Regions from separate parts of the Homo sapiens genome. Here all the other regions are linked to region 7. Evidence: promoter capture Hi-C in 16 types of primary human blood cells and fetal thymus (Javierre and others, 2016). All regions are on one chromosome and are shown on one strand. The core of a region is centred on a gene start or on the middle of the fragment in contact, and the rest is flanking DNA. Distances in the headings are between cores, read along the strand shown.

The links. The method cuts DNA at HindIII sites, captures the fragments that hold promoters and counts their contacts. A CHiCAGO score of 5 or more calls a contact.
Region 1: a fragment that was not itself captured here is called in contact with the fragment with the promoter of SQLE in region 7 in 16 of 17 cell types (megakaryocytes, naive B cells, erythroblasts and 13 more); the score reaches 27.5 in megakaryocytes.
Region 2: a fragment that was not itself captured here is called in contact with the fragment with the promoter of SQLE in region 7 in 9 of 17 cell types (erythroblasts, naive B cells, total B cells and 6 more); the score reaches 12.7 in erythroblasts.
Region 3: a contact is called between a fragment that was not itself captured here and the fragment with the promoter of SQLE in region 7, in 3 of 17 cell types (naive B cells, total B cells and erythroblasts). The highest score is 6.2, in naive B cells.
Region 4: a contact is called between a fragment that was not itself captured here and the fragment with the promoter of SQLE in region 7, in 10 of 17 cell types (megakaryocytes, total B cells, M1 macrophages and 7 more). The highest score is 12.3, in megakaryocytes.
Region 5: a contact is called between a fragment that was not itself captured here and the fragment with the promoter of SQLE in region 7, in 16 of 17 cell types (erythroblasts, megakaryocytes, naive B cells and 13 more). The highest score is 26.6, in erythroblasts.
Region 6: a contact is called between a fragment that was not itself captured here and the fragment with the promoter of SQLE in region 7, in 16 of 17 cell types (erythroblasts, megakaryocytes, naive B cells and 13 more). The highest score is 22.0, in erythroblasts.

What each region holds. Positions count from the first base shown.
Region 1 is chr8:124,588,720-124,591,419 of GRCh38, reverse strand. It overlaps MTSS1 (MTSS I-BAR domain containing 1), which reads left to right. Exons shown (of 14, transcript NM_014751.6): 4 at 185-269; 5 at 1,709-1,800. Among named protein-coding and RNA genes, the nearest start is that of NDUFB9, 51 kb to the right of the region's middle. The HindIII fragment of the contact is 2,738 bases long and covers 61-2,700 here.
Region 2 is chr8:124,518,674-124,521,373 of GRCh38, reverse strand. TATDN1 (TatD DNase domain containing 1) reads left to right here. Exons shown (of 12, transcript NM_032026.4): 4 at 2,493-2,556. Among named protein-coding and RNA genes, the nearest start is that of MIR6844, 11 kb to the right of the region's middle. The HindIII fragment of the contact is 6,152 bases long and covers 1-2,700 here.
Region 3 is chr8:124,500,290-124,502,989 of GRCh38, reverse strand. All of the region lies in intron 9 of TATDN1 (TatD DNase domain containing 1), which reads left to right. Among named protein-coding and RNA genes, the nearest start is that of MIR6844, 6.9 kb to the left of the region's middle. The HindIII fragment of the contact is 6,052 bases long and covers 1-2,700 here.
Region 4 is chr8:124,606,098-124,608,797 of GRCh38, reverse strand. The region is part of intron 3 of MTSS1 (MTSS I-BAR domain containing 1); the gene reads left to right. LOC124902016 (a long non-coding RNA gene) reads right to left here and starts at 2,061. Exons shown (of 2, transcript XR_007061088.1): 1 at 1,701-2,061. RefSeq lists an enhancer at 1,116-1,465. The HindIII fragment of the contact is 806 bases long and covers 865-1,670 here.
Region 5 is chr8:124,568,881-124,571,580 of GRCh38, reverse strand. The region is part of intron 6 of MTSS1 (MTSS I-BAR domain containing 1); the gene reads left to right. It overlaps LOC105375740 (a long non-coding RNA gene), which reads right to left and starts at 2,698. Exons shown (of 2, transcript XR_928608.3): 1 at 2,667-2,698. The HindIII fragment of the contact is 8,842 bases long and covers 1-2,700 here.
Region 6 is chr8:124,551,546-124,554,245 of GRCh38, reverse strand. It overlaps MTSS1 (MTSS I-BAR domain containing 1), which reads left to right. Exons shown (of 14, transcript NM_014751.6): 14 at 554-2,700. The coding sequence ends at 1,254. Among named protein-coding and RNA genes, the nearest start is that of NDUFB9, 14 kb to the right of the region's middle. The HindIII fragment of the contact is 664 bases long and covers 994-1,657 here.
Region 7 is chr8:124,997,055-124,999,754 of GRCh38, reverse strand. SQLE (squalene epoxidase) reads right to left here and starts at 1,250. Exons shown (of 11, transcript NM_003129.4): 1 at 61-1,250. The coding sequence starts at 351. SQLE-DT (SQLE divergent transcript) reads left to right here and starts at 1,557. Exons shown (of 2, transcript NR_134457.1): 1 at 1,557-1,792; 2 at 2,595-2,700. RefSeq lists enhancers at 890-939, 1,870-1,929 and a silencer at 1,150-1,649. The HindIII fragment of the contact is 7,996 bases long and covers 1-2,700 here.

The DNA.
Region 1 (2,700 bases), core at 180-2,679, 410 kb after region 7:
TACGTACATACATGTTTACATGTGCCTGTGTGTATGCACACATGGGCATGGTGAGAAGCTTCTAAAGATGGTGGCTTATATTTTACAATGTGGTGAAATCTGACTTGTTTGTAAAGTTCTCTAAAGACCTCCATGATCCCTGCTAGTCTTCTATCCCTCACCTTTGCCTCTGTTGCTTTTTCAGGTGGGACCAGGGAGATTGGATCTGCTCTCACCAGGATGTGCATGAGGCACAGAAGCATTGAAGCCAAGCTGAGGCAGTTTTCGAGGTGAGGAGCATGTTTTGGCCCCGATCGCCAACACCCTTGCAGATTTCAGGTTAAGGAAGCAGTCATGTGTGGCACACAGCATTTAAATCCCCACAATCTGTCTGACTTGGCTCATTCATTGCCTGAGTATTGTTAGGCATCTGCTGCATACCAGGCACTGGTCGAGGCCCTGGGGGTGCAGCAGATCACCAGCCAGCCAGGCCCCTGCCTTCACAGAGCCTGTGCTCCTGCATGGGTCTCTCCTTACCCTTTGTCTGTGCAAGGAGCCGGTGCAGCCTGCTGAGGTCTTTTGGGCCCCCACTGCCCTGCGGGAGCCTCGCAAGAAGAGGGGCTGTGAAATTGGAGAGTGAGATGTGCCTTGGTATCCTGTGTGCATCCTCCAGACTCACTGAGGGATGTGGCAGCTCACAGACCACTCCACACCGCCAGCTTCCCATCTGGCTTCCAGGCATCCAGAATAGGGAAGAAATGGTAGTAGCTGGCACCGGAATTGGGTTACAAATGTTCAAGTGAAAATGGACATTGCTTTCCAAGCAGATCAGCATCATTCAGCAGTTTTATGTGATTCTGTTTGGGAGACTGCACAAAATGAAGGGGCACACCTTCAGAGACCTTCACCCCTCAGTAACCCCGAGGCTGGCAGTGCAGCTCGAGAATTTTCTGGGTCTCGTCACTCTTCTCTTTCTCCAGGCTGTGCATACTTAGTGTATATTTATGACCTGTCATGCCGCATGCACAGCAGAATCTTGTGGGTCTTTTTTAAAAATAGTGATGCTGGGCCCCACCCTCAAAGTCTCCATTGGGGGTGAGATAAGGCCCAGGTGTCTTTGCATTTTGGGGGTCCCTGTTGTGCAGCTCTCAGAGGGGTGACCCCTGTGGTTCTGCAACTTGGCTTGTTAATACAAACACTAGAATATCACAGGGAAAATGGGAAGAAGGGTCACTCCCACCAGTCACATTGACAGCTTCTTAGTAGTCATTGAAAAACATTCTTGGGGCCAGGCGCGGTGGCTCTCGCCTGTAATCCCAGCACTTTGGGAGGCCAAGGCAGGCGGCTCATGAGGTCAGGAGATCAAGACCATCCTGGCCAACATGGTGAAAACCCATCTCTACTAAAATACAAAAAATTAGTTGGGCATGGTGATGTGTTCCTGTAGTCCCAGCTACCTGGGAGGCTGAGGCAGGGGAATCGCTTGAACCTGGGAGGTGGTGGTTGCAGTGAGCCGAGATCGCGCCACTGCACTCCAGCCTGGTGACAGAGCGAGACTCTGTCTTAAAAGAAAAGCATTCTTGGAACATGGCTGTTCTGGAGCCCCGGGGTTTAGATGAGAACGTTTCGGGTAATTGTGATTTAGGTATGTTTTGACAACCACATTTAAATCCTGACAACAGAATGTATCTATTTAATTTCTCCCTTTTTCCCCCCCGCTTGGTAAAAGCGCTTTAATTGATTGTCTGATAAACCCACTTCAAGAACAGATGGAAGAATGGAAGAAAGTGGCCAACCAGCTGGATAAAGACCACGCAAAAGGTACAGGGGCGAGATGTCTAGCGCATCACTGCACGCTGGGGGGCGCTGTGGGAAGTTGCCAGCTGCTGCCTGGCCCCTCTGCTAGGTTTATTGGTGTCACCAAAACAGCCAAGGGCCCACTCTGTCCCTACTCTCCTGTAGGCACGTCCGTGTCAGGGGATGAGGAGAACAAAGTGATCCCGTTGTGAGGCTGAGTGCTGTTTCTTTGGTGTGAAACAACATTCAGCAGCTGATAGTCTGATCCCTCAGTGGCATGAATTGTATTCAGCTGAATTAAGAATAAATCACAGGGTGGGCGCGGTGGCTCAGACCTGTAATCCCGGCACTTTGGGAGGCCGAGGCGGGCGGATCACTTGAGGTCAGGAGTTTGAGACCAGCCTGGCCAACATGTTGAAACCCCATCTCTACTAAAAACACAAAAATTAGCCAAGCATGGTGGTGGGTGCCTGTAATCCCAGCTACTTGGGAGGCTGAGACACAAAAATCGCTTGAACCCGGGAGTCAGAGGTTGCAGTGAGCCAAGATTGCACCATTGTACTCCAGCCTGGACGACAGAGTGAGACTCCATCTCAAAAAACAAAAAAAAAGAAAAAGAAGAAATCATAGGCCGGGTGCAGTGGCTCACACCTGTAATTCCAGCACTTCAGGAGGCTCAGGTGGGCAGATCACTTGAGTCCAGGAGTCTGAGACCAGCCTGGCCAACTTGGTGAAACCCTATGGCTACTAAAAATACAAAAAGTATCCAGGTGTGGTGGTGCATGCCTGTAATCCCAACTACTCGGGAGGCTGAGACACGAGAATTGTTTGAACCCAGGAGGCAGAGGTTGCAGTAAGCAGAGATTGCACCACTGCACTCCAGCCTGGGTGACAGAGCAAGACACTGCCTCCCCCTAACCCTCC
Region 2 (2,700 bases), core at 133-2,632, 480 kb after region 7:
CTAAATTTTCATGTGTTAGCCATGAGTAATCTTAATGTTTATTCACACACACACACTTAGGAATGACAGAACTGAAGTGATTTTTACTTGGACATGGTTCCAAACTGAAATTTAATTCAATACCTTGCATTTATAGTGTAGTAGTTAAAAGCATAGTTAGGGCATAACAAACGTGGTATCCAGCCCCTACTTCATTTTTCATAGCTTTATAACCTGGAGTCTTTTATCTCACTAGACTTCAGTTTTCTCATCTGTAAAATGAGAATGATAATAGTACTTAATTAATAGAGTTGTTATGAAGGCTAAATAAAATATTGAGTGTAAAGCATTTGGTATTATACCTGGCATAAACAACCTTCATTATGTGTATGATGGAAGCCACCACCATGAGATCATCATCATCGTTATCTTTTTTTTTTTTTTTTTTTTTTGAGACGGAGTCTCGCTCTGTCACCCAGACTGGAGTGCAGTGGCATGATCTCGGCTCACTGCAAGCTCTGCCTCCCGGGTTCACGCCATTCTCCTGCCTCAGCCTCCCGAGTAGCTGGGACTACAGGCGCCCGCCACCACACCCGGCTAATTTTTTTGTATTTTTAGTAGAGACGGGGTTTCACCACGTTGGCCAGGATGGTCTCGATCTCCTGACTTCGTGATCTGCCAGCCTTGGCTTCCCAAAGTGCTGGGATTACAGGCTTGAGCCACCGCGCCAGGCCCATCATCGTTATTTTATACACTGGGAGAGGAGATGATGCCCTCTTGTCTTGCCGTTTTTTTCAACTATTTAGTAAAGTTGTAGGTAAAATAAAAAGTATACTTGGTTAGTATTTTACGTAATTTAAATACTGGATGTAGGCATCTGTTCTAGTATTAAAGTTTTAGGTATGTTAGTAACAAGAAAGTTTTCCCAATATTTTTATTAGTCTTTTTTTTTTTTTCTGGAGGCGAGTCTCGCTCTGTCCCCCAGGCTGGAGTGCAGTGGCACGATCTCGGCTCACTGCAACCTCTGCCTCCCGGGTTCAAGTGATTCTCCTGCCTCAGCCTCCCAAGTAGCTGGGACTACAGGGGCCTGCCACCACGCCTGGCTAATTTTTGTATTTTCAGTAGAGACGGGGTTTCGCCATGTTGGCCAGGATGGTCTCAAACTCCTGACCACGGGTGATCCATCTGCCTCAGCCTCCCAAAGTGCTGGGATTATAGGCGTGAGCCACTGCGCCCTGCCTTACATCTTCTGCTTTACAGATAGTCAAGGATTTAATTATGGCTATGTTTCCGGAATGGATATGCAATAGCTAATCATATTAAAGATTTAAATAGCTATATGAAAATATCTATTTATCATTTGCAATTCTACCTTCGTTTTGTGTTTTCTCCCTAAGTTGTACCTAGAATGAATTCATTTTAGTGAGACTTTTGAAGTATGCTTTACAAAAATATACATCATTATACTTGAATCACGTCTTCAGAAGAAGGCGCCCCTTACGCAGCACTGCTTCAGTGCTCTCACTATCAACACATAACTCTTTAGTGACATTTTCATTTTAACAGATTAGGAAAGATGGCATTCTAATTACTGAGCGGACTCTAATGGGTCTATGCAGAAGTATGCTTATTTGCCAAAAGCCATACGTTTTCCTACAGAGAATTCATTAGCATGCATTAACTCACTGATTCTCAAACCTTTTGCTCTCAAAACCACTTCACATTCTTTATTATTGAGGACCCCCAAAGAGCTTTTGTTTGTGTGAGTCTTACCTACTGATACATACTATATTAAAAATTAAAACAAAATATTTTAAATATTCCTTTTAAAATAAGAAACTACTGGATAACATAAATAGCATATTTTTATGAAAAATAAGTATATTCCAGAACAAAAAAATTAGCAACATGAGTACAGTTGTATGTTTTTTCAAATCTCTAATGACTGTGTTACTAGAAGCCTGCTGAATTTTCATATCTTTTTCTGTAGTCAGTCTCTGGTGGTGTCAAACATCGTGTAGCTTCTTGAATACCTTGTGGACACTTGCAGTAGAGTGAGAGTGAAAAAGACAGAAAGTGTCTTATTATTGTTAGGAAAATAGTTTTGACTTCACATACCTACTGGGAGTTACCAGACTACACCTGGAGAACTGTTGAATCAATCAACACTATTGAATCATTGATTTCGTTATTCACGCTTTCATAACACCTGATCTCTGTCCTCAAGGAATGCATTGTCTAATAGGAAAGGTGGGTATATAAATACATTTTAACAGAGTCTAGTGATGAATTCTGCACCTCTACATGCACACACACATACATACATCCCTGAGGTGTAGTCAGGCACTACTCTGCATAGGAGGTAATCTCCCAGCTGAATTTTAAAGGGTAGGTGTGTGGCAGTCACAGAGGAAAGAGCATTCTGGAATAAGGAAGTGGTAGGAAGGCATGTTTAGGAAACTGTTATTGCTGCCCTATTAAAGTCAGCTTATTTTATTTTCTTTCTATTTCAGTTTATGATTACAGGTGGAAATCTACAAGACAGTAAAGATGCACTGCATTTGGCACAAACAAATGGTATCCTCATATTTCTTTTACCAAAAAAAAAATGAATTAAGTAATTTTGAAGAAGTCTTTCTGAAAACTGCTTCAGGTACAATACAATGGATCATGACTGGAAACAATAGGAAAATGGACTGATTTAAATGGGACATGATTAAG
Region 3 (2,700 bases), core at 89-2,588, 500 kb after region 7:
TGCTCTGTAGCCCAAGCTGGAATGCAGTGGCGTGATCACAACTCTGCAGCCTTGACCTCCCAGGCTCAAGCAACCCTCCCACCTCAGCCTCCTGAGTAGCTGGTATTACTGGTGCATGCCACCACACCTGGCTATTTTTTAAATTTTTAGTTGAGACAGGGTCTTGCTATGTGCCCAGGCTGGGCTTCAAGTTTAAGAAAGCCAAGTAAATAAAAATATGAGGGAGGTTAATCCAGGAAAACAAAAAGTAGTACAAGAAAAGAAATGTTAAGCACAGTATACCACATGAGCAAACCTATGTAGATAATCTAATAGTTCCGTCAGTTGCAGACCCTTCCATGTGTTTCAATTTGGACTAGTTCCTATTTTTAGATCCCATGTATTCCTTGCGTGTTTGTTTTAGTGGAACACATTCTATAACATCCTCTGAGGATGTTTTCATGGGAATTAAGTTTCTTTTAAATACAAGCCAGTATTTCTATTTAATAAGGTTTCCCATTTAGTGATGAGCAACTACACGATTCTGAAGTCAAGTTTGAAATACATCTTCCCATTTTGAAAATGAATTTTTTTTCTGCTCTTCCTCTTACAAGTTAGCCTGGATAGTTAATGAAAGGGGAGAGAACCCCACTTTTTTTTTTTTTTTTTTGAGAGGGACTCTCACTCAGTCGCCCAGGCTGGAGTGCAGTGGCGCGATCTTGGCTCACTGCAGGCTCCGCCTCCCGGGTTCACGCCATTCTCCTGCCTCAGCTTCCCGAGTAGCTGGGATTACAGGTGCCCGCCACTACACCTGGCTATTTTTTTTGTTTTTGTATTTTTAGTAGAGACAGGGATTCACTGTGTTAGCCGGGATGGTCTCGACCTCCTGACCTCGTGATCTGCCCGTCTCGGCCTCCCAAAGTGCTGGGATTACAGGTGTGAGCCACCACACCCAGCCCCCCACTTTCAATGGATAGTTCTCTTGAATAAAATTCAAGATCAGAAATCATTTTCATTGAGAATTTATACTGTCCCATCAGTAGGTTCCAGTGTTGATGAAAAGTTGCTACTCTGATTCCTAATCCTTTACCTGTGACCTAGTTTTCTTCTCTTGTGAAAGGTTTTAGTTTTTCATCTCTGATGTGAAATTTCACGAAGGTGTGTGTTGATGGTTTTCATCACGCCTGGTGTTGCTTTTTCATTAGCCCTTCCAGTGGGGGGCACATCTTTACCCGTCCTTGGAATTTGATTTTTCTCTTCTGTTCTTTTCTTGGGCATACTAGACTGATAACTCGTATTCTTTTTATTCTATTTCCATTGTTTCCCTCCTTCCAAAAAAAGTGCTATATTTTGTAACCCTTTTTATGAAATTTACTTCAACTTTTGTTTTCAATTTCTGAATACTCTATTTTTATACTGCAGTGTCTTCTCATCTCTCTAAAGACATGAATTATAGTTTAAAGTTACTTTCTGCTTGTCTTCCTGCATTTGTTTCCTCACAGTCACCTTTTCTTCTTTCCTTTGGTCTCTGTGATGATGGAAACTTTCTTCAAATGTCAGGCAGTCCTTCACTGTCTATTTAAAAAAAGAAAAAAAAAAGCCATTTGGAAGCTCTCTAGAAGGCATTCCAGCAACTGGCAGGCTCAGATGGCCAACTGACTTTTTGCTAGGGATTCCCAAATGTCAGTTTGTAGAGATCTTTTTCTGGGTTGGTTCAGTTTCTCCAGAAAGGGATCCTGTGTTCTCTGCTGGAAAAGTGGGGAACAGTGGAGGGAAGGGGTTTGTAAATGTCCCTGACAGTATTTTGGAGCAGGATGGGTTAGAGGATCTCACTGTTTAGTGGGCTGCCCCAGTCTCCATGCTCAGGCCTGTGCCTGACGCCTGTACTCCTCTGTGCTTGTTGTTCTCCAGCTGTTTCTGATGTGGATTGTCTTGAGACCCAGCACCTCTTTCTCTGCACCAAGTCACAGATACATAACCTAGGAACCCCATCTTCTCTTGGAGTTTTCTCAAAGAATCTCCATTTCAGTCCCTGCCTTACTCCACTTTCTAGGGACTGTATCTACTTCTAGGTTTGTTTGTCTTTCTTTCCAGGCACATAGCATTTAAGTTACTTGGCACTTAAACACTGGTCTTTTATCATTTCTCTGTCCACTTTCAGCTATATGTTGTGATTTGGGGTAACATATGTCTCCTAGTTTCATTTAAAAAAATCCTGGTTTTCTCCCTGTAAGTTTGGTTTTGTTTTTTTTTTTTTAAGAGAAGGGGGTAGAAGATCTTTATTTTACCAACTTAAAACCATAATTCTTAGTTGTTGTTTTTTTTTTTTGAGACAGGGTCTCACTCTGCCTCTCAGGCTGGACGACTTACTGTAGCCCCGACCTCCTGGGCTCAGGCGATCCTCCCAAGTATAATAGCTGAGACCACAAGCTCCTATCACCATGCTTGGCTAATGTCTGTACTTTTTGTAGAGATGGGGTTTCACCATGTTGCCCAGGCTGGTCTCAAACTTCTGAGCTCAAGCTATCCACCTGCCTCTGCCTCCCAGAGTGCTTGGATTACAGGCATGAGCCACCGTACCTGGCTCCTGTCTTAGATATTTCTAAATGATCTTGAGTTCATTAGGATGTTAGTTTAAGCTAATCACAAAAGATTCTTTTCTCCTACATTAATATTAGCTTCAGAATTAATAGGTTAGTCATTTATTAAAGTGGATGTTTA
Region 4 (2,700 bases), core at 18-2,517, 390 kb after region 7:
CCATTTTCCATCTAGCGCATAGCTGCCCACAGCACCCTCCACACAGTGCCCCAGGCATCCATACACCTGATCAGAATTAGCCCAAGAGATAAACTGATTTACCATCCTTGCCTTTGTCTATGAAGAGCTCATTCTAAAAAAGTAACTAACATAAAAAACAAGGAAACAGCTGTTTGCATAGGCCTTAAGTGTTGGGAATTAGGACCCCCATCATACCCCAGGGCAGTGGGAAGGAACACTCAGGCCCACTGCTTGAAAAGATGTCGGCAACCTGAACATGCACAATACAGTGGCGATAAACCAGACCCTACTGGTTCTCTGCAGTTGGGCAATGACCTTGTCGGAGGAGGCGAGGCCATGATATTGCTGGAGGAGGCGAGGCCATGATGTTACCCTGGCTCCAGTGCTCATCCATGGGACATGTGGTCAGCCCCTGTGTCCCACAATCCCATTGCCTTCTGGCAACTTCCTAACTGATGACTGAGCCACAGTCAGGTTTCAGTCATTCATTGGTAGTTATTCTTATCTGCATTTTGTTAGAAGAACACAGTTAATAAAGTGGGTGTGGGGAAGAAAACAGTGCAGGAGAAGGAGAACTGGAAGAGGAACCAGAGTGGCTTGAGTTATCTAGTAAAGTCTTCATTACATGATGTGACCAGCTCTCAGAGGGGCATCTAATACAGAGCAGTTTAGTTTAACCTCAGAAGGTCATCAGGGTGCTAGAATCATGTCCCATTTTCATGGTAATTGGGCAAGACTGGGAAAATGTTTTGGGAATACACATTTTATCTTCCACTTCCAGCAGTGGCTTCTAACCACTGAGGACTCTCCACGTTACCAATCTCTACTGACCTACCTCAAGCTTTGTAAAATCTTATTTACCGAACAAATTACATTTTTAAGTAATAATTAAGCCCCCCCTTTTCTGTAGAGATATATAATAACTGTTAACCTGGGGTCATTTTTATCGGGCTTTATATAATTCCAACAGAAAGCAAAGGACTGTGAGTGCTTAAGTTAGCCTGAGCAGTAAAGAGGCTTTTAGACCTACTGAGAATAGTTTTTGGATTCACATTACCACTGCTTGACCTGAGACTCGATTTGGGAGCTAGAAACTAAAACCAGTTATGCCCTTCCATTGAATAGATGGAGGCTGGGAGGCTCGGGCTTGTCTAGCTTGTAGGGACTCAAGGGCACTTTGGTCGTGTCACGGTGCTGCTTTCTCTCCTGCGCAAGCCTCATACTTGCTTTCTCTGTTGAATGGTAAAAGCCAGCCTCTTGTTTGCTATTCCGGGGTTAGAATTTCAATTCCTTTTTTAAAAACTCTGTTTAGATCAGAAACCATCCAGACACTCATTCAGAAACCATCTGGGGAAGGTATGACTTGAGATAGAAATTGAAGAGATAGAGAGGAGGAGAAGAAGATAGTATACGAGTTAGTTTAAATGACCCCAGATGAGTTTGGCCGGGAAATCAACTGCAGAATGCATCCTCTGTCCCTGGCCTGTATCCCTCAAGGGCCTTTGATAGAGTCTTGGCTTAGTTGCAGCCACTTTTCCTCTAGAACTTTAACTCAGTAAAGGTGTGCAGTAAAAATGGGGAAGAGGGATGAGGAGGAGCCAGGAGAGAATCGAGGAAGAGCAAATATTACGAGCGTAGAACGCGAAGCTTGGCATGTCTGCCTGGTTCCACTTACTCACGTTTGTTGAGCTCCTTCTATGTCTGAAGCTGTTTCTAAAACGTCAGTTTCTAGAAAACAGGATCCTGAATTCAGCTAAGCATGATTCCCAGGGCCATCCCTGGGAAGCTGTCCTGAAGATGCCTCCTGCTAAGACAGGTTGCGGAGGGGAGTCAGTGGCTGAAAGGGTGATTTCAGGATAGATTGTCCTGGCAAATAAGGAGGGGTCCTCTGCATGAATAAGCAGTGTACCCTGCCAAAGGAAGCTGGCAGGAGGTGATTCCTGCTGAAGCCTGACAGTACATGTCCACCCTGAACTCATGGCCTTGGATGCAGACCGGCCAACTGTACACAGTTGAGCGAGGAAGTGGCGACAGCACGGTTTGAATCTGGCTGATAAAACAGATGTTCGGGGGAAGGGCTCTTATTTTCTCCCAGTTATAGGATCGGGGGTGGGGGAAGAAAACCTAATTCCCTATCTGCCAAATGTTTCTGTTGGTAATGTCCTGGCAACAGTGAGATGCCCCCAAGAATGGAGTGGTTGAAAGTTCTAGCTATCGACTCAGCCCTGGATGTAAATTCTGAATTCTGTGTGACCTTGGGCAAGTTACTTAACCTCTCTGAGTACCCTTGGCCTCATCTGTAAAATGAGGATAATGATACCTACTTTTGGCGGGGTGCAGGGGCTTGTGCCTGTAGTCCCGGCACTTTGGGAGGCTGAGGCAGGTGGATCACTTGAGATCATGAGTTTGAGACCAGCCTGGCCAACACGGTGAAACCCCGTCTCTACTAAAAATACAAAAATTAGCTGGGCGTAGTTGTGGGTGCCTGTAATCCCAGAATCGCTTGAACCCAGGAGGCAGAGGTTGCAGTGAGCCAAGATCATGCCATTGTACTCCAGCCTGGGCCACAAGAGTGAAACTCTATCTCAAAAAAAAAAAAAAAAAACAAAAAACCAAACACAGAAAACACAAAAATTAGCTGGGCATGGTGGCACATGCCTGTAGTCCCAGCTACTTGGG
Region 5 (2,700 bases), core at 91-2,590, 430 kb after region 7:
ACCATCCTACACGAGAGTTGAGAACATTCTGAGGTGGTCTGCAGCCCTCTGTGTTTTGTTATTAGAACATCATAGAATAGATCGAGAGACTAGAAGTAGCCCTCTAGACCAGCCCTGAGTCATGTGACCCAACAAGGCCCACAATTGGCCATGCTGTTTGGCTGCTTGCAGAGGAAAAGCAAGGGTTTACAGCTTTCCAGAGCTTCCCTGCTGGTGGACTCGTATCATACACACATTAAGTATATCTGGATTAATTTTGCACTAGCCAGCATTTTAAAATAGAAGAGAAAACTCACAGTTTTCATAGTGCTGGTGGCACCCAGCCTTCCCTCTGTAAGCCGTTGGCCACAGGTGGTGGGTCTCTGTGAACAGAGCACCTGCCCTGAGGCAGATTCCAGGAGAGAATGGGAGAATGTTTTTACAGGTTTCTTGTCTACTAAAAACACATGAAACCAGTGGCTCAGGTGGCCAGATTAATGTATGGTGATGATTACTCCTACATCCTTGAGGAAGAAATTGAAGGCATGGTAAAGAATTATTCTGAGGGGTGGAGGTAGTGACTACATGGAAGAATGGGTGAGTGGGTCACCTTGAAAATATGCTGAAACACCCAGGCGCTGTGGCTCATGTCTGTAATCCCAGCACTTTGGGAGGCTGAGGTGGGAGGATCACTTGAGGCCAGGAGTTCAAGACCGTCTGGCCAATAAAGCAAGACCCAATCTTTATAAAAAAAAATTGAAAAACTAGCTGGGCATGGTGGTGCACGCTGGTAGTCCCAGCTGCTTAAGAGGCTGAGGCTGCAATGAGCTATGATCATTCCACTGCACTCCAGCCTGAGTGACAGAGCAAGACTCTGTCTCCAAAAAGGAGAAAATTATGCAGAGACTTCTCAAGCAGCAAATTTCTTATATATAGTAGTTCCCCCTTCTCCTCAGGGGATATGTTCCAAGACCCCCCGTGGATGCCTAAAACTGCAGATAGTACCCGAACCTTACATATACTGTGGTTTTTCCCATGCATACATGTCTATGGTAAAGTTTAATACATAATTTAGGCACAGTAAGAGATTAACAACAATAATAATAGAACAATTATAACAATATACTGTAATAAAAGTCATGCGAATGTAGTCTCTTTCTCTCTTTCAAAATACCGTATTTTACCACACCATGGGTAGCTGAAACTTTGGAAAGCAAAACCACAGAGGAGGGGCCAGTGTAGTATAATCGTTGGGTAGCACCCCTCCGTGGACTTAGATACATACTATCTACACATTTGTACTCACTTGACTGATGAGAGTTATATACACAAAGCTGTCCATACTGTATTTACTGGCCATCTAAGGCATTTTCAAGGGTGATCTTTGACTATAATTTTCTCATAATGTGCTAACTTAGAACTTATTCCCTGTCTGAGAAGTGACTTTTCCTTACTAAAATCTGACTACCTTTTCTATTGGGATGTGCTTTAAGCCTGATTGCCTCTTGCTCCAAATTAAACTTTCTCCTCTGCTTATGAGTGAAAAATACAGAATATGTTCCTACATCCAAGGCAATTTTCCCTGACCCTTTCTTTCTTCAGACCAAATGGTTCATTGCATTTAATGTTCTCTACATCACTAAGAGGGATAGATGGAAACTGCAGGGCCCTTCCTGCGAGGCGGTGGGGCAGAGAATAGGTTCAGTGTTAAGGGAATTAGGCAGTGTGGCTCAACCCTGCCTCTGTACCATTCTTTCTGTGACCTTAGGTGAGTCCCTTGACTTCTCTAGGACTTGGTCTCCATTGAAACATGAGCAGATTGGCCCAATTGGATAACCCCTTCCAGCTCTAACATTTTGTGTTGAAACTATTAAACAGACATTTATCAAGCACCTGCTGTATACACACATGACATTGTACTAGGGGCTGTGCTGGGAAAGACCAAAATCCTGCCCTGAAGAAGTTTAGGAAGTATCTCTCTGGTTTGAGTGATAGGTAAGGCCCCTGCATAGGCAGCCCAAGGTGGAAGCTCATGAGCTGGTGTCCCCTGCTGTCACCCTGCTGTCCCCACCTACAGATCAGATTTGTAGTAGCTGCTCCTTTGGACACAGTGCCTCTTGGTCCATGTTTATCTTTTAGGGCAGCAGGCTTCTTTTGCAAGAGGCCATGGTCTGGGGGCCATACTCTGTGTCACACTACTCTGCCATTGTAGGGAGAACTGGTACAGGCAATATGGTAAATAAATGGATTTGGCTGTGTTCTAATAAAACTTTATTTGCAAAGATGGTTTGCTGACCATGTGTTAGTCATTCAAAAGACTAACACCCTGTCTTAAACTCCAGAAGTGGTTGCCTGCACCTAACTGGGGTCTGTGGACCTGGCCAGATAATTCCTAAACATGGGCCAGGCTCCGCATAGACCCCACTTTCAGTTTTTCATCATCAGAGACCTGTCTGGAGGTCTTGTTATTACTGGGCTTGTTCTACAGCAAGAGCATTCAAGACTCTCCACTAGAGAGTCAAAGGAACTGCCAAGGATTCCCATGGGCCCCCAGAGCCAGGAGAGCGGATGCTTGCCACCTTTGTCTTTAGGAGCAGATCCTTCTATCCAGACAGAGGCTCTTTGATTGAGATTGACCCAACAAAGCCAGCCCGTGCCCGTTTTTGGAAACACCCACAGGCTCTTACCTTGTTTCCACATCTCTTAGCCTCTTCAGAATGT
Region 6 (2,700 bases), core at 76-2,575, 450 kb after region 7:
GTAAGCTCCCACATCATCCTGAGATTGGTCTTACAAGGAAGTGAGCACATGACACTGATGGAAACTGTCTTTGTCCCTTATTGTCAGGGACTCACTGTCAGTAGCTTTGTTCTTTGTCTAGCCCTTGCCTCTCCAGTTAATTATCAGGGAGATGTTATAGCCTAGGCTAGTCTATTTGAGGTTTGATCTTCACGTTGAGTTCTGGACTGGAGAATTTGTCTTCTTTCATCCCCCTTATTCCTCCCAGAGACGCTTGCAGGTAGCTTCGCTGCAGCCTAGCAGCTTTACCTTCTTCCCCATTGACGATATTTGAGTGCCTACCGTGTCCAGCACTGTTCTAGGTACTTGGGACACATCAGTGAACAAAGCAAAGATCCCTGCCACGGAGTTCTTAGTTGGTGAGGCTTTCTGAAGATGGTAGAGAAGCCTGGGGGAAGCTTGGGATGAGACTGTGTGTGTACCCTGCCTTGCGTGCCTTTTGTCCTCCCAGCCCAGAAGAATCAAAAAAGCACAGCTGCTGTCTTGAATATGTCTAATCAAATCCTATAATCAGTTTCAGATTATGATTATTTCTCTGTAAGTGGTGACCAGGAGGCAGATCAGCAGGAGTTCGACAAGTCCTCCACCATTCCAAGAAACAGCGACATCAGCCAGTCCTACCGACGGATGTTCCAAGCCAAGCGTCCAGCCTCAACTGCTGGCCTCCCCACCACCCTGGGACCTGCTATGGTCACTCCAGGGGTTGCAACTATCCGACGGACCCCTTCCACCAAGCCTTCTGTCCGCCGGGGAACCATTGGAGCTGGTCCCATCCCCATCAAGACACCCGTGATCCCTGTCAAGACCCCAACCGTCCCAGACCTCCCAGGGGTGTTGCCAGCCCCTCCAGATGGGCCAGAAGAGCGGGGGGAGCACAGCCCTGAGTCGCCATCTGTGGGTGAGGGCCCCCAAGGTGTCACCAGCATGCCCTCCTCAATGTGGAGCGGCCAAGCTTCCGTTAACCCTCCACTTCCAGGCCCGAAGCCCAGTATCCCTGAGGAGCACAGACAGGCAATTCCAGAAAGTGAAGCTGAAGACCAGGAACGGGAACCCCCAAGTGCCACTGTCTCCCCAGGCCAGATTCCAGAGAGTGACCCTGCAGACCTGAGCCCAAGGGATACTCCACAAGGAGAAGACATGCTGAACGCCATCCGAAGGGGCGTGAAACTGAAGAAGACCACGACAAACGATCGCTCAGCCCCTCGCTTTTCTTAGGTTCACAAGAAATGCGCCGGTGGGGAATGAACTGTTTCATTAATAAAACCTAATTTGTCTTGATCCATTCCACTCTATAATAAAACAAAAGATTTTGTAGGCAACTCGGAATATAGCTCTTTTGAAAGTACTCGACACCTTTAGATAAGAATTAAAACCAACCTATGTAACTGACATAATCTTGATCTTTTAATTTGTAAATATTGACAATTTTCTTTCTGCACATTTTAATCTTAGTTTCCCTTTTGATTTTTCTGAAGGTGCCAAATTCCATTTAACTTTTTTACAAGTCTTTGTAAAATTTTAAATGCATAAAGGGGGTTGGGGCAGGGGAACCACGAAGTAGTTAATTTTAGAAAAGGATTTACTATACTTCACTCTTCTTTTTTTTTCCCCACAAGCTTTTGTAGATGCATTGTAGTAGTCTAGCTTAGAAGCAAATGCAAGTTATTTTAATGTACAAACTAAATGGGTAAGAGGTAAAATCTTCATTTAAATATACTATGTTCTGGATGAAAAGAGCAGGAGTAACAATTGATGAGCAATATTCAGAGTGAAGTAAATCTGGAAATGGTAGACTGTGTTGGGATTGGGGGGAGGGCCATGGGAGGGGTACATCGTCAACATAGCCGATCCTGTTACATTTAAGAGTAGCCTCGTAGGTTGAATTTCTTCTGGTAGCTTCATGGTAAATGCATCCGAATAAGCCATACTGGATTGCAGTGTTTGTTTCTGTAGGGTGTTTAAGGACTTGACTTCCTTTCTCCCATGATTCCTCTGGACTGCACACAGCACCCACAACCAGCCCCATGCATGCTGCTGCCTCTGGGCAGTCGTAGAATCTCCCACTTCAGTTTCTCGTTGATTGTACTCACCTTTATGGAATCCAAATACATCCAAAAGGGTAAGGCAGTTTTAAAAATGTGAAAACATTTAAAAATGATAATAGCAGGGAATTCTTAGATTATAGTAAATGCCTTTTACTTAACTGTGCCCAGCAGGCTGGGTGCGTTAAAAAGCCCAAGTATTTTGAAAAAACTCGAACAGATTTGACAAGGGTAGCCAGCTTGGAGTCTAGCAACTTGCCAATGTGTTTACCAATCTGGGGGCTTGTTTTTCTTTTCTTCTTTCAAATAAATGGCAGTTAACTGGCTTTACAGTAAACATTGAAGAGAGGAGGATTTGTTTATTGTCACTGGGAATCTGACCACTATACTGTCCTTTTTTTGTATTCTGGGTAAATGTTTTTTGGAAAAGATTTGTCTTTTCTAAGTGGAAGTTAAATTTGTTATACTGCCCATCCCCTAAAGCCAACAGAGATTTGTAGATTTAAAGGGATCACATTTGAAGACAATAGTGTTTAAGAAAGCAAGCAAGTCCCTTAGCAGTCAGGTCATAACAGGGCACATTTCTGACCGAACCCTCTCAAGGCAGAGGAGGAGTTTG
Region 7 (2,700 bases), core at 1-2,500:
AGTGAACCCAATCCTACTCCTAAATAAGACATTCATCTGCCCGCTTTGAAATCAACCTACCCTCCTGGCCTCGAGCTGCTCCTTATTTTCTGATTCAGGGGGGGATTTGGCCCAGAAGAAGCCAATGAAAGGCAGGCCTGAGAGAATATCCGAGAAGAGGGCGAACTGGGAGCCGCTCTGCTGGCGCCCGAGGAGACCCCCGTTTCGGTGGCGACAGCGGTAGGAGAGCACCAGGCCCAGCGAGAGGAACACCAGCACGCACAACAGGACCTCCCTGTTGGCCAAAGTGATGAAGTCCCCGAACTTCTTATAAAAATAGGTGAAAGTGGCAATGCCCAGAAAAGTCCACATGGTTCCAAGGCTTCTTTGGTGGCACCGGTCAAGGCGGAGATTATCTGCTCGAGTGGGTTTAAGGTTCTCCCCAAAATGAGGTACCAAGAGGAGCACGGAGAGCCGGCCAGACTCCAGTAAACAGTGTCCCAGGACGAGAAGTCCGATCAGACCAGTTTTTAAAAATCATATAAAGTTAGTGTAAAAGTATGTGAAGCCAAGTTGTATAGGGCGTAGAAAGCAGTATTTAAAAATCGCCTGCTGGAACAGCTCCCGAGCAGACTCGCTCCTCCTCGCCCAGGAAATCCAGATATTCCCTTTTTTTCTTTTTTGATGGTGTTCCCTGAGCGGTTGCTGCGGGTGATGGATACTCTTCTGATACTGGCTCTTCGTGCTATAATTTCTTTTCTCACCAAGAGCAGGTGCCCTTTCAGAAGGGAATGGGAGTGGAGGGAGGGTCACAGAAACACCTCGGCACTGGGGGAAACGTGGCCTAGCCTCTGGCGACGGCGAGCAGCGGCCGGAAGGCACGGGGGCTGCGGGCCGGCGCGGGTTCAGAGGCTTCTTTTTCCGCGGACGGAGACACTGTACAGCCCAACCTCGGGAAAACGCCAACGCCGACGCCTTCTCCAACAAAAGATGGCCTCGGACTCAAGAGTGCGGCTCCAGGGCAATGCAGCCCCAACCTAAAGATTTAGAGGCCTCCCGTTTCGCTGGCCCCCAGAGCCGCCCACCGCGACTGCACTTCCCCACCGATAAAAGGTGGTTTCCAGGGTACCTCCCTCAGATGGCGGCGGCGGCTCCCGACGGCTTCCTCACCAGCATCCCTCGCGGGCGGCGGCTCTCGCCAGCGCGGCGCGGCCCCAGTAACCAGAGTAACCGTCGCACGCCCCCACTCGCCGCCAGGCTCCACGCGTCTCAGCCAGCTGGGCGGGCTCGGCCCAGACGAGGGACCGGGGGCGGGGCTCAGGCGCGAGTCCGCCCATACCGCGCGCCCCGCGTGCTGCCCCGCCCCCTACCCCTGCTCCTGCCGCCGCCGGCCAATGAGGGCGCGCACCGCGCGGTAGGCCGAGATGGCGCTATGCCGCGTTTGGCCAATCGGAGGCGGCGCAACCTGCGCGGCGACGCCCCGAAAGGCGCTAGGGCGATGTTGCGTGGTGCGGGTTGGGGCGTGGGGATGGGCGCGGGCCGGCTCCGGCGTGGGTGGGGCCAGGGGTCGCCTAGGAGGCGCTCTGGGGCCGGGATCGGCGTCGGGGTCGGGGTTGGGGTTGGTTCACCGCAGCAGCCCCAGCTCCTGCGCCCTCCCTGGACTGAGGTGTGCTCGCTTTGAGGAGAAGCCTGGAGTGATCCGCTGCCTCGGGTCGGAACGTTTCCATTCATTCCGCTAGCATTTATTGAGCGCTTATGATATGTCAGTCCCCGGAGTCCGAAAGAGGAATCAGACACAGCTTCCCTGCCCTGTGTATGTGGAGAGGGCGGAAGGGAGGGCCATGAGTGCGTGGAGAGCCTGACATTCCAGCTGAAGCTGGAAGAATGAGTAGGCTTTTGCCTTAAGAAGAAAAGGAGAGGACGCTCCAGGTGCTCAGGCTAGAGATACACGGATGCGCCCAGCCCGTTCTCTCAAGACCAGAAACGTTGGGGGTGGGGGCTCGGAGGCAAAGAAGTCAAATAGTCGTGTCATAGGTGTCCTGAGAAGGGGGTGGTTAGAGAGGGAGCCATGGAAACCCAAGAGGTGGTCCTTCCCTTGGCCTGGAGAAGTCTGGTGAGGCGCCCAGGGGGAGGTTACACGGTGTCCAGGACAAGCAGTCCGAGGGAGCAAAAGTGTGCAAAAGTCTCGGAGTGAGACAGCCCTTATTCTACTACGATGAAACTTACCTAAAATTTATTGAGGCTTAAGACCTCAGTGTCTTTGCTCATCCTGTTTCTTAACTCTGGACTTCCTTCTTTAACCCCTATGATAATAGGTGCAAATCCCTTCTGCCTTTTGGAGCGTGGCTGCATTGTCACCTCTTCCACCAAATCGCCATTGACCTTCACCAAGTCACATAACTTTATTCATACTTTTTAATCTCTAGATTCCCTAAAGATCTGTGTCTGATAAGATCACCCACAGCACCTAGCACAATGCTCTGCCCTTAATTTATCCTCCATAACATGTATTTAATGAATGATGAACGACACTGGCGCATAAAAGCAAGACTAGGCAACTAGAGTTAGGAGACCCAGATTCTGGCTACCGCTAACCAGACTGTGACCTTTTACAGATGTTACAAGTCACTCTGCCTCTGTGGGGAGAAGGCAACTTCTTCATGAACTCGAACATCCTTTGCAATTCTGTATCAGATACTTGGCAGGGTTTAAAAAAACATG